Regions from separate parts of the Homo sapiens genome. Here region 2 is linked to region 1. Evidence: promoter capture Hi-C in human tissues and cell types (Jung and others, 2019). All regions are on one chromosome and are shown on one strand. The core of a region is centred on a gene start or on the middle of the fragment in contact, and the rest is flanking DNA. Distances in the headings are between cores, read along the strand shown. Region 1 holds the start of FUNDC1 (FUN14 domain containing 1). Region 2 overlaps KDM6A (lysine demethylase 6A).

Region 1 (5,309 bases), core at 2,449-4,948:
GTCTCATCTACCCTGTGTCAGCTCATACTTCTTTTGTCATTAATTCGCTCCTTCAGTGAGCTCACATTCCCTTCAGCATTCCAGATCCACACTGTGCAAATGAATCCTATATTTCTAACTCTAGCCTTCTGCACTGGGTTGAATGGTGTCCCCCTCAAAATTCATATCCTTCCCAAAACCTCTAAATGTGACCTTATTTGAAAACAGAGTCACTGCAGATGTAATAAGTTCAGATGAGATCATACTGGACAGGGTGGGCCTTTAATCCGATAAGGACGCACACAGAGGGAAGACGACATGTGAGGACAACAGAGGCAGAGACTGGAGTAATACGTCTACAAGCCAAGGAATGACAAGGATTGCTGGCAACCACCAGAAGCTAGCAGAGAAACATAAAACAGATTTCTCCCTCTGAGCCTCCAAGAAGGAACAAACCCTGTTGACATCCTGATTTCAGACTTCTAGCCTCCAGAACTGTGAGAGAATAAATTTCTGTTATTTAATTTAATTAATTAATTTATTTTTTAGATGGAGCTCGCTCTGTCACCCAGGTTGGAATGCACTGGTGCCATCTCAGCCCACTGCAACCTCCGCCTCCCGGGTTCAAGCAATTCTCCTGCCTCAGCCTCCTGAATAGCTGGGATTACAGATGCCCGCCACCACACCCAGCTAATTGTTGTATTTTTAGTAGAGACGGGGTTTCACAATGTTGGCCAGGCTAGTCTTGAACTCCTGACCTCTGGTGATCCACCCGCCTCGGCCTCCCAAAGTGCTGGGATTACCAGTGTAAGCCACCGCACCTGGCCTCCACAGTTCTATATATTTTATCTCCAAAACATTATTTGACTGTCTTCTCCTTTCCACTCTCAAGGTCATCATTACCTTGCTTCCAGAACACTTTAAGGGCCCTCTAACTGGTCTCAACACCTCCCATCTCTCCTAGCAAGGACCCATCCTAATAGTTTTAATTTTTTGTCATGATCAAAAGCCTACAGCTACCTACAGCAAAATAAAATCTCCTCAGCCTCCTATACATGTCTTGAATTGGTCTAAATTGCTAACTTGTTAGGTTAGTGCCTATTAACTGTTCCTCCTTAATATACACCATAATATCACATCAGTTTTACATCCTAAGAAAATTGCAAAAATTTACTACACTGAATATAGTCATTGCAACAAATCGCCTGTATAATTATTAGAGTTGTATTATACAGCTCCTGGACCAACACCTGGCTGTAATCCAAATGTGTGTGTTGTGTGTGTGTGTGTGTGTGTGTGTGTGTATGTATATATACATATATGTCAGCAACAAAGGCTCAGAAAAGGGAACAGAAAAGGCAGGCAGCAGCCACAATGTCCCTTGGACTGTGTTCCACAAGCATGTGTATCCATTGCTTGATGGCATCAGTCACTAAAATGAACCTATCTCCTGCTGCTCTGTCTCTAGGCTTTCCGAGCAAACTTCTGCCAATGATGGGGCTTCATCTACAAGGAGTCTGGTCTCCAAGGAGAAACAATGAAATGACTTGATAATTCTATTCTCAATTATTTTTGAGTCTGTTTTAAGACTGGGCTTTAGGCCCTGACTGACATTAACCAATCACCCATGGAACCAAATTGTGAGCTTATTTAAGCAGAGCCATACCCTGAATTACAGGGCTAGAGGAACTATCAGCCTGTGGAGAATTATCTGAATGACCAGGCCCTGACAGGCATCTCTCTTCTAATTGCAGGCTTTTTTCCTGCAGCAGCACTAGTAAGTACATATCATGAATAAATGCCGCACCTCTGCACCACAGAATCTTCACAATGAGTACTTCTATCATAAAATGGCATTTGCAAAAAAAAAGGCATAGAAGAGTGGGTCATTATTCCAAGGTGCATGTAAAACACAAATCAAAAAACTCATCGTTATACTTATCAAGTGGAAACAGGTAAATATTTCAATTAAATCTATGTAAGATGAATTTAAATAAGAATCTAAGAAAAAACGCTTATGCACAAGTTAAGTACCCTCACTAACTCCAAAATTTCTCTACAGTCACGAACATTTTCAAAACAGTCAAATTTGTTTCTGCCCCTTGTTATCTGGCTAGTTTTTTTATTATAAGAACAGAATTAGATCCACAGTAGCCATTGTGTTATCACGTGGTCTGAAATGTTAACTGGTCAGGCTGATGGTTATTAACTACTTCTTAATGGACTCCACAATATTATCAAGTAAGCAATCAGACCTTTAAACACAGAATTAACGTTCTACAGCTCTTTTTCAAAGAGTTATCATAATCTGAACGAGCCCACAAAAAACAGAATCATCTGTATCATCACCAATAATTCATACTGAGCATTTTACACTGCTCTGTACAGGGCTGACAATACTAGAGGCCAGTTCTACCGTGGGAGTTTCTTAGGTTTTTTCAGCAGTTAGCACTGAATGAAATGTAAAAATTTACATATAATTAACTCATATATTTCTTCCTATCTACTATCACTGAATCAGATCCACGACATTTGCTGAACATGAGAATGGGGAAATTATATAAAGAATCAAAAGAAGGATGAGGAGGGAGAAGAGGAACAGTGGTGGGCATGGGGGAGGGGATCGCCAAAACTCAACAGGGAGCCTGGGAATGTAGATTACATCAATTTTAACTCAGAGAAAAGCCTCTTCTGGAATTAACAGTGTAGACCTACTGCCTGTGCACGGTGATTCTTGCCCATGTATGAAAGGACAGCAGTGTCAGGCCCCCAAATGAAATTTAATGAAAAAGACGTTGTTCTCACCAGCCAGTAACGCCACCCATTACAATCTGGGTAGCTACTGAGTATTTTTCTACCATAGGTCCCGAACTGTGGCCAAACACTCGATTCCACCACTGGTGTCTTCTTGCATACTCAGTTAAATCCAACACTTCATAAGAGTCGTCATCACTTTCATAGTCTTCAAAATAGCAAAATGCAAAAAATAAATGTAGAGTCAATCAAAAGTCAGAAATGTTCTATACATCTTTTTAAAAATCTGTTACAACTCATTAGTTCTGGCCTACAGCTAAAAATGCCCACATAGAAACTACTGACTTTATTTAACTCAATTCTTGAGACCAGGGCCTCAAGAGTAAAGGACCCTGCAACAATGACCCCCATCTGCTTTCCCAAAGGCCCGGGGACCAGCCTGGGGTCACGAAGCCAGGGCCAACTCAGAATGACACAGTAGTGAGGGGTCACCCCCACCTCCAAACCTTAGTAGGGTCAAGGTCAGAGCAGGGTCCATTTTCATCAGTGGGAGGAATGGGGGTGGGGAGGGGTCCTCCTGAGAGAACTAGTCTGGAGCTCAGCGAAATCACTTGAGTCCAGACGTTTAAAAAAAGAAAATAATACATTTGAAGATGGGAGATGAAGGGCCGGAGGTGAAGGTAAGGCAGGAGGCAGGTAGGGCTGTGCTGGGGGTGGGGGTGGCTCTCCGCTTGAGTTCCGCAGAGAGGGGAGGAAAAAGTCTAGCTCGGAGGGGGTGCTCGAAGGGGCTGCCTTAAAAAAAAAATGGAGCTCGAAGAATCCTAGGGCAGGGGAAGGAAGAGGTGCCATAGGAGCAAGGTCGAGAGCTGTGAGCCGCGTCCCAGATACCACTTCGGGCCCTGGCCGCTCACCTTGGGGAGGGGGGTTCCGGGTCGCCATGATACCGCCAGCGGCCAATTCTGGAGTGGTCCCCACCCGCCCTCCTCTCCCTGGCACTTTAAGGGCCGCTCTAGGCCAGGATGGAAGTCTATGGTCTCTTTTTTCCTCCTTCTCCTACTCCAGGCGCGTAGTCCTGTCTCCGCCCCCTTCTCTCAGCGCAGGACCTTCTGCCTTCTGCGCAGGCGCGAAACTCCGGAATGTGGGGAGGGCCGGGCGGATCATAGCCCCGCGAGAGCGTAGGGGACTTGTAGTCCGTTGCCTTCCGCAACTAGGAAGGGGGAGGGACCGCCCCTCCTAGAATTTCCGTAACTTGAATTTGATTATTTTGTTTTAAAAGAGCCTTAAGGGCTGAAGGAATGGGGTGAAGGGCGCCACATGGTGGTACAAAGGGAGAACCAGCTGGGTATTGACAAAGACTCTCTCCTTGACCAAACTTTAGTCAGGAGGCTCCTCTGAGCTGTTTTTGACTGGGTCTCCTCCTTGGGTCGTCTTTGACCTGCCTAGTCCATTTGTGGTAAGAATGCAGTTAAGTCAGTTTAGTAAGAACTCCCCCACCCTTAATATCGAATCACCCTCAATATCCGATCGAATTCCTCAACCCCACTCTTGATATCTGATCACTCTGCCACCAGCAAAAATCCTGTTAAATTGGCTTTAGCAAGAATACCCCTACCCTTCATGTCTACTCTTGGTAATCTTCCACCCATTGATCCATTCACTCTGATCATTTACTATAAATTCCCTGCTGTATTCAGAGTTGAGACCCATCACTCACCCCTATTGCCATAGTCTTTGTTTTATGAGAAAAGGTATTGCTCTGTCACCAGGCTGGAGTGCAGTGGCGCTATCATGGCTCACTGCAGCCTCAAACTCCTGGGCCCAAGAGATCGGCCCACCTCAGCCTCCAGAGTACCCAGGACTCCAGGCGTGCATCACCACTCCCGGCTAATTTATTTTTATTTTTTGTGGAGAGTAGGTCTCCCTGTGTTGCCCAGGCTGCTCTTAAACTTCTGGGCTCAAGCAGTCTTCCTGCCTCTGCCTCCCAAAGTGCTGGGATTACAGATGTGAGCCACCATGCCAGGCTGTATTGCAATAGTTGTGATACCTATTGCAGTAGTCATGAACAAAGTCTTCCTTACCATTTTAAGAAGTGTCCCATAATTTTTTTGTCAGGCCCATCACTTGCATACTGTCAGAATAATTTTTTAACAGTATTTTGAACATTACCAGAATTCAAATGCTTGAGGAAAAAGGCTTGTAAAAGATAAGAGAAACCCTGTTTCAAGCCATACTTTTCTAAGGGCGCAAGCGCTCACAAAGGGACCACAAGTTTTCTAATGCCCTGCTGCTAGAAGTTGGAATCTGTTTACCTGCTCTCTCTCTTGAGTTCCTGCCAGGAATCCAAAGGAGGTAAAGAAAGGCCTAGAAACCTCGTAATTCCTGACCTGGCAAGAGGACATAATTTTTTAGTGTCATTCTTTTGTTTGTTTGTTTGAGATGGAATCTCGCTCTGTTGCCCAGGCTGGAGTGCAATGGCACAATCTCGGCTCACTGCAACCTCCACCTCCCGAATTCAAGTGATTCTCCTGCCTCAGCCTCCCAACATCCCAAGGAGCTGGGATTACAGGCACGTGCCA
Region 2 (5,620 bases), core at 800-3,299, 340 kb after region 1:
AACCTGGGAGGCAGAGGTTGCAGTGAGCTGAGATGGTGCCACTGCACTCCAGCCTGGGCGACAGAGCGAGACTTCATCTCAAAAAAAAAAAAAAAAAATCACATTTTAGCTTTTAGCAGATGTTCAAAGGATGATCTGCTGTGTGTTCTGTCCTTCTTTGATTTCATTTTGTAGTAATATTTACCTTGTTATGAGTTCTTAACTTGAGATTCTTAAATGAGTGTTCATGGGTCAATTTAAATTCTCTGACAGAGTTTGGAAGGACACTCAGGATGACTTAATGGTCATCTTGGAGTACAAGACACTTTTGGGGTGAGAAGGAGGGGAGATTTTAAACTGTTTTATAGATTTCTGTACTGCTTTTTTTTTTTTTTTTAACACCGTAGACATATATTACCTTAAAAATAATACAATAAGGCCAGGCGTGGTGGCTCGTGCCTGTAATCCCAGCACTTTGGGAGACTGAGGCGGATGGATCAACTGAGGTCAGGAGTTCGAGACCAGCCTGGCCAAAGTGGCAAAACCTCATCTCCACTAAAAACACAAAAAATTAGCCAGGCGTGGTGGTGGGCGCCTGTAATCCCAGCTACTTGGGAGGCTGAGGCAGGAGAATTGTTTGAACCAAGGAGGCGGAGGTTGCAGTGAGCCGAGATCGCGCCACTGCACTCCAGCCTGGGCAACAGAGCATGTCTCCATCTCAAACAAACAAACAAAAAAAAGTACTCTGATAGTACACCAGAATGTTATATTTTGGTTGACTAAAAATGGGTTTAAACTACCATGTCTATAGTTAGAAGAGATACTTGTAAAGGCCTTTCTTGCATTTTAATTACAGTCTGAAGTTGGGATACTTTTGAACTTGATGTTCCTTCAGTGAGGGTAGGAGTGAATGGAGTAGAGATGTACCCAATTAGGTCCTATTTCTTTGTGTTTTAGATGGCTTTGTGACAGTCACTGCGCTCATTCTTCATTTTGATCTTTAGCATTTCATTGCTGACTTTATTTTGAGTCTGATTTGGCACAGGCTGATACTTGGGACCTGATTAAGAACTGTAACCTGGGCCGGGCGCGGTGGCGCATGCCTGTAATCCCAGCACTTTGGGAGGCCGAGGCGGGCATCACGAGGTCAGGAGCTCGAGACCAGCCTGGCTAACATGGTGAAACCCCGTCTCTACTAAAAATACAAAAATTATCTGGGTGTGATGGCGCGTACCTGTAATCCCAGCTACTCGAGAGGCTGAGGCAGGAGAATATTGCTTGAACCCAGGAGATGGAGATTGCAGTGAGCCGAGATCGTGCCACTGAACTCCAGCCTGGCGACAGAGCAAGACACCATCTCAAAAACAAAAAACAACAAAAAAACTGTCACCTGGAAGGGTGGGAGTAATCCCTTGTTAGACAGTTTTAGGTTTCTGAGCTAATTTGTAGACTGCTTGCAACTTTCTTCTATAAGCTTTTATTATTTTTTCTCTTACCTATTTCTTCCTTATATTCCATCATTTGTTTACTTCTGTATATTATTAAAACTGTTGGTGGTGTTCCATTGTGAATGTATTCTTGTATGCTTTTTGTAATTTTCTCTGTGGTACTATTTTGTCTTTTTTTTTTTTTTGAGATGGCATTTCACTTTTGTTGCCCAGGCTGCAGTGCAATGTCGCAATCTCGACTCACTGCAACCTCCGTCTCCAGGGTTCGAGCGATTCTCCTTCCTCAGCCTCCTGAGTAGCTGACATTACAGGTGTGCACCACCACGCCTAGCTAATTTTTGTATTATTAGTAGAGATGGGGTTTCACTGTGTTCGCCAGGCTGGTCTCCAACTCCTGACCTCAGTTGATCCCCCCGCGTCGGCCTCCTGAAGTGCTGGGATTACAAGCGTGAGCCACCATGCCTGGCTGAGTATTTTGCCTTTGTTAGAATAAATAGAAGATGCTGCTGCTAAGTTTATTCTCAGGAAGAAAGTTGGGGTTATACTTAAGGGTATTATATAAGGTCATCTAATTCATTTTAGTTTAGAACAGTGGAAGAAATTGTTTTAGACAAAGGGTTATTTTTAAACTACAAATTTATTACGTGTTCATTAGATTTTTCTCTCTTTTTGAAAAAAAAGTTTATTAGGAAAAATTTTCAGTGTTTTCAGAAAGTATTGCAAATCAACCATCACCCAGCTTTAATAGTTTGCAACTCATGACCAGTCCTGTTTCATCTATATATATTTTGCCCCTCACTCATGTTATTTTGAAGCACATCTCAGCAATCAGTCACAGCATTTAATCCATAGATGTTTGTTTCTGAAACATAACCGTGATGCCCTTATTACATGTAAAATAATTTCTTAATCTCAAATATCTGTGGACCTTGTTTTTTGCTGTATGGAAGTTAAGAAATAATTGCTTGGAAAATGAGTAGAAAACATGTTTAGCTGAGTATGTGATGTGAATTTTGTTTGTATTTTGATACTGCTATAGTGTTCTGTGATAGAATATTACATAATATGTGACACAAGAGGTAATTTTTCCTGAGAACTTTATGAATCATAGTTGCTTGAGTCTGGATAGTTTTTATTTTTAGGGAAAATTTGTTTTCAAGATACAGTAGTTAAATAAATATTTTAGGTTTCTGAATTTCAAATATCAGAATGAGAACTACAAAAGCTTTTGCTTTGCTTGATTGATTGGTGAAACATTTGTTGAGCTGCTGTGGGTGAGGGATTGTGTCAGGTTCTGGGGCAACCAATAAGACCTGGCCTCTGTCCTGCAGTCAGTCTGTTGGGAGAGGCTGACAGACTGAGTGATCATATGATGTATTAAGTGTAATAATAAAGATACATGCAAAGTGCTGTGAGCTCTGAAATGATGGAGTAATTAAAACATTTAAAACTTTTTATTATGCATCATTTAAAGTATGTACAGGTATTGAAGGTAGTTTAATGAACTCCTGTTTTCAACGGTTCTCCACATTTTGGAGCAGTTAAGTTTTTTTTTTTTTTTGAGGCAGGGTCTCACTATGTCAGCTGTCACCCAGGCTGAGTGCAGCGATGCTATCTCGGCTCACTGCAACCTCTGCCTCCCAGGCTCAAGCAATTCTCCTGTCTCAGCCTCTTGAGTAGCTGGGACTATAAGCGTGAACCACCAAGCCTGGCTACTTTTTTGTATTTTTTTGTAGAGACAGGGTTTCATTATGTTGCCCAGACTGGTCTCTAACTCCTGGGCTCAAGGTATCTGCCCGTGTCAGCCTCCATAGGTCCTGGGATTACAGGTGTGAGCCACTGTGCTGGCTGGAGCAGTTAGTTTGTTTTTTGAGACAGAGTCTCGCTCTGTCGTCCAGGCTGGAGTGCAGTGGTGTGATCTTGGCTCACTGCAACCTCCACCTCCCAGGTTCAAGTGATCCTCCTGCTTCAGCCTCCCGAATAGCTAGGATTACAAGCGTGCGCCACCATGCCTAGCTAATTTTTTTGATTTTTAGTAGAGATGGGGTTTCACCATGTTGGCCAGGCTGGTCTTGAACTCTTGGCCTCAAGTGATCCTCCCGTCTTTGTCTCCCAAAGTTCTGGGATTACAAGCGTGAGCCACCCCGCCTGGCCTGGAGCAGTTAGTTTTGACTGGAGAAGTGACTGAGGGAAACTGCACAAAGATTCAGCATTTAGCCTTGGTTATGAAACATGTAGAAATTTACCAGACATGTAGATGTAGCAAGAGGAAAAAGAGGGTAAAGAGTTAGAAGTATAAACTGAGCGTGGAGGCTCACGCCTGTTGTAATCCCAGCACTTTGGGAGGCCGAGGCTGGTGGATCACCTGAGGTCGGGAGTTCGAGACCAGCCTGACCAACATGGATAAACCCCATCTCTACTAAAAATACAAAATTAACCGGGTGTGGTGGCGCATGCCTGTAATTCCAGCTACTTGGGAGGCTGAGGCAGGAGAATAGCTTGAACCCGGGAGGTGGAGGTTGTGGTGAGCCGAGATTGCACCACTGCACTCCAGCTTGGGCAACAAGAGTGAAACTCTATCTCAAAAAAAAAAAAAAAAAAAAAAAAAAGAGTTAGAGGTATAAAGTTAAATGGTGTTTGAGGAATTGTGAATAGTCAGGTATGGGTAGAGGGTAGCATGTTTCAGTGGGATTGGGAAAAGATAACTGAACATGTGAGAAGCCCCATCACTATAGGCCGTAGGATGTTTTGGGGCATTGTTAAACTGAACTCTCTAATCAGGTGAAGTGACATGACCAGAAGTAGGTTTTATGGGAATATTACTGGCCACTGTGAGAAGGATATGGTGTAAGGGAAAGGAACTTCAGTACCGATGGGTAGATAGCAATGCATGAATTTTAGGATAGAATTCTGTTCCTACCACTTACTAGATGTGTGATCCTTGGGCAAGCAAGCATCTTTCAGAGCCTCAGTTTTCTTATCTGTAAAGTAGAAGTAGTAATACATTTCCCGCAGACTATTGCATTTTGTGTTAGGGGAAAAAATGTAAAGTGTGTGGCATTGGGCTTGGTGCATGAAAGGTGCTCAGTATAAGATAATATCTTGGATAATGGTAACGTCTTGGAAGAGACGAGTTTAAACTAAGGCTGTGGTTTAGGAATGGGGTGAGATGGAGGCAGACTTAAGAGCTCTTGAAAAAGGCCTTTTCTTGGCTTTCATAACATCCTTGCTACTTTGACTTTGTATCTGACAACATCTCAGTCTTTGCAAGGATGCTGTGTTTTAGGTCCTCTTTACTCACCCTGTTCCCAATTTACATACATGTTTGACTGCCTACTTGACTACCTTGGTATCTTGAAGGTATCTCAAACTGAACATATGCAAACTGAATTTATAATTGTCTTTAATATTCCTTGTCTTAGTAAATGTCACTTACCACTACCCATGCCAGAAACCTTGGAATAGTTGTTGACATCTCTTTTTCTCAATTCCTAATCACCCGACCTCATCATTTCTATTTTTTTTTTTTTTTTGAGACAAAGTCTCACTTTGTTACCCATGCTGAGTGCATTGGCATGATCACTGCTCACTACAGCCTGACCTCCCAGGCTCAAGTGGATCCTCCCACTCCAGCTACGTGGGACTATAGGCATGTGCCAGCACGTGCAGCTAATTTTTTTTTTTTTTTGTAGAGATGAGGTCCTTCTTTGTTGCCCAGGCTGGTCTTGAACTCTGGAACACAAGTGATCTTCTGGCCTTGGCCTCCAAAGTGCTGGGATTACAGGCATGAGCCGTTGTGCCTGGCCTACATTTCAAATCTCAAATCCGTTTCCCTCCATCCCCACTGCCCCCATCCTAATTGCAGCCATGATATTGTCTTTGACTTTTGAAATACCTTCATGCAATTTTTTGAATATAGGTATACTTGCACATAGTACAAAATTGAAAAGTGACAGAAAGGATGGTACAGTGAAAATCACCCTCTGTGCTTGCTTTGGCAGTACATATACTAAAATTGGAACAATACAGAGAAGAGTAGTATAGCCAAATATTAAAAAAAAAAAATTCTGGCTGGGCGTGGTGGCTCACGCCTGTGATCCCAGCACTTTCAGGGGCCAAGGCGGGCAGATCACATGGTCAGGAGTTCGAGACCAGCCTGGCCAACATAGTGAAACCCCGTCTCTACTAAAAAT

The links. Contacts are between HindIII fragments. The study calls those that stand out against the background at their distance.
Region 2: a contact is called between a fragment that was not itself captured here and the fragment with the promoter of FUNDC1 in region 1, in 1 of the 25 tissues and cell types used here (adrenal gland).

What each region holds. Positions count from the first base shown.
Region 1 is chrX:44,539,161-44,544,469 of GRCh38, forward strand. FUNDC1 (FUN14 domain containing 1) reads right to left here and starts at 3,699. Exons shown (of 5, transcript NM_173794.4): 1 at 3,645-3,699; 2 at 2,785-2,941. The coding sequence starts at 3,672. RefSeq lists enhancers at 3,394-3,783, 3,964-4,013, 4,024-4,083. The HindIII fragment of the contact is 19,174 bases long and covers 1-5,309 here.
Region 2 is chrX:44,880,093-44,885,712 of GRCh38, forward strand. The region is part of intron 2 of KDM6A (lysine demethylase 6A); the gene reads left to right. Among named protein-coding and RNA genes, the nearest start is that of KDM6A, 9.7 kb to the left of the region's middle. The HindIII fragment of the contact is 5,938 bases long and covers 1-5,018 here.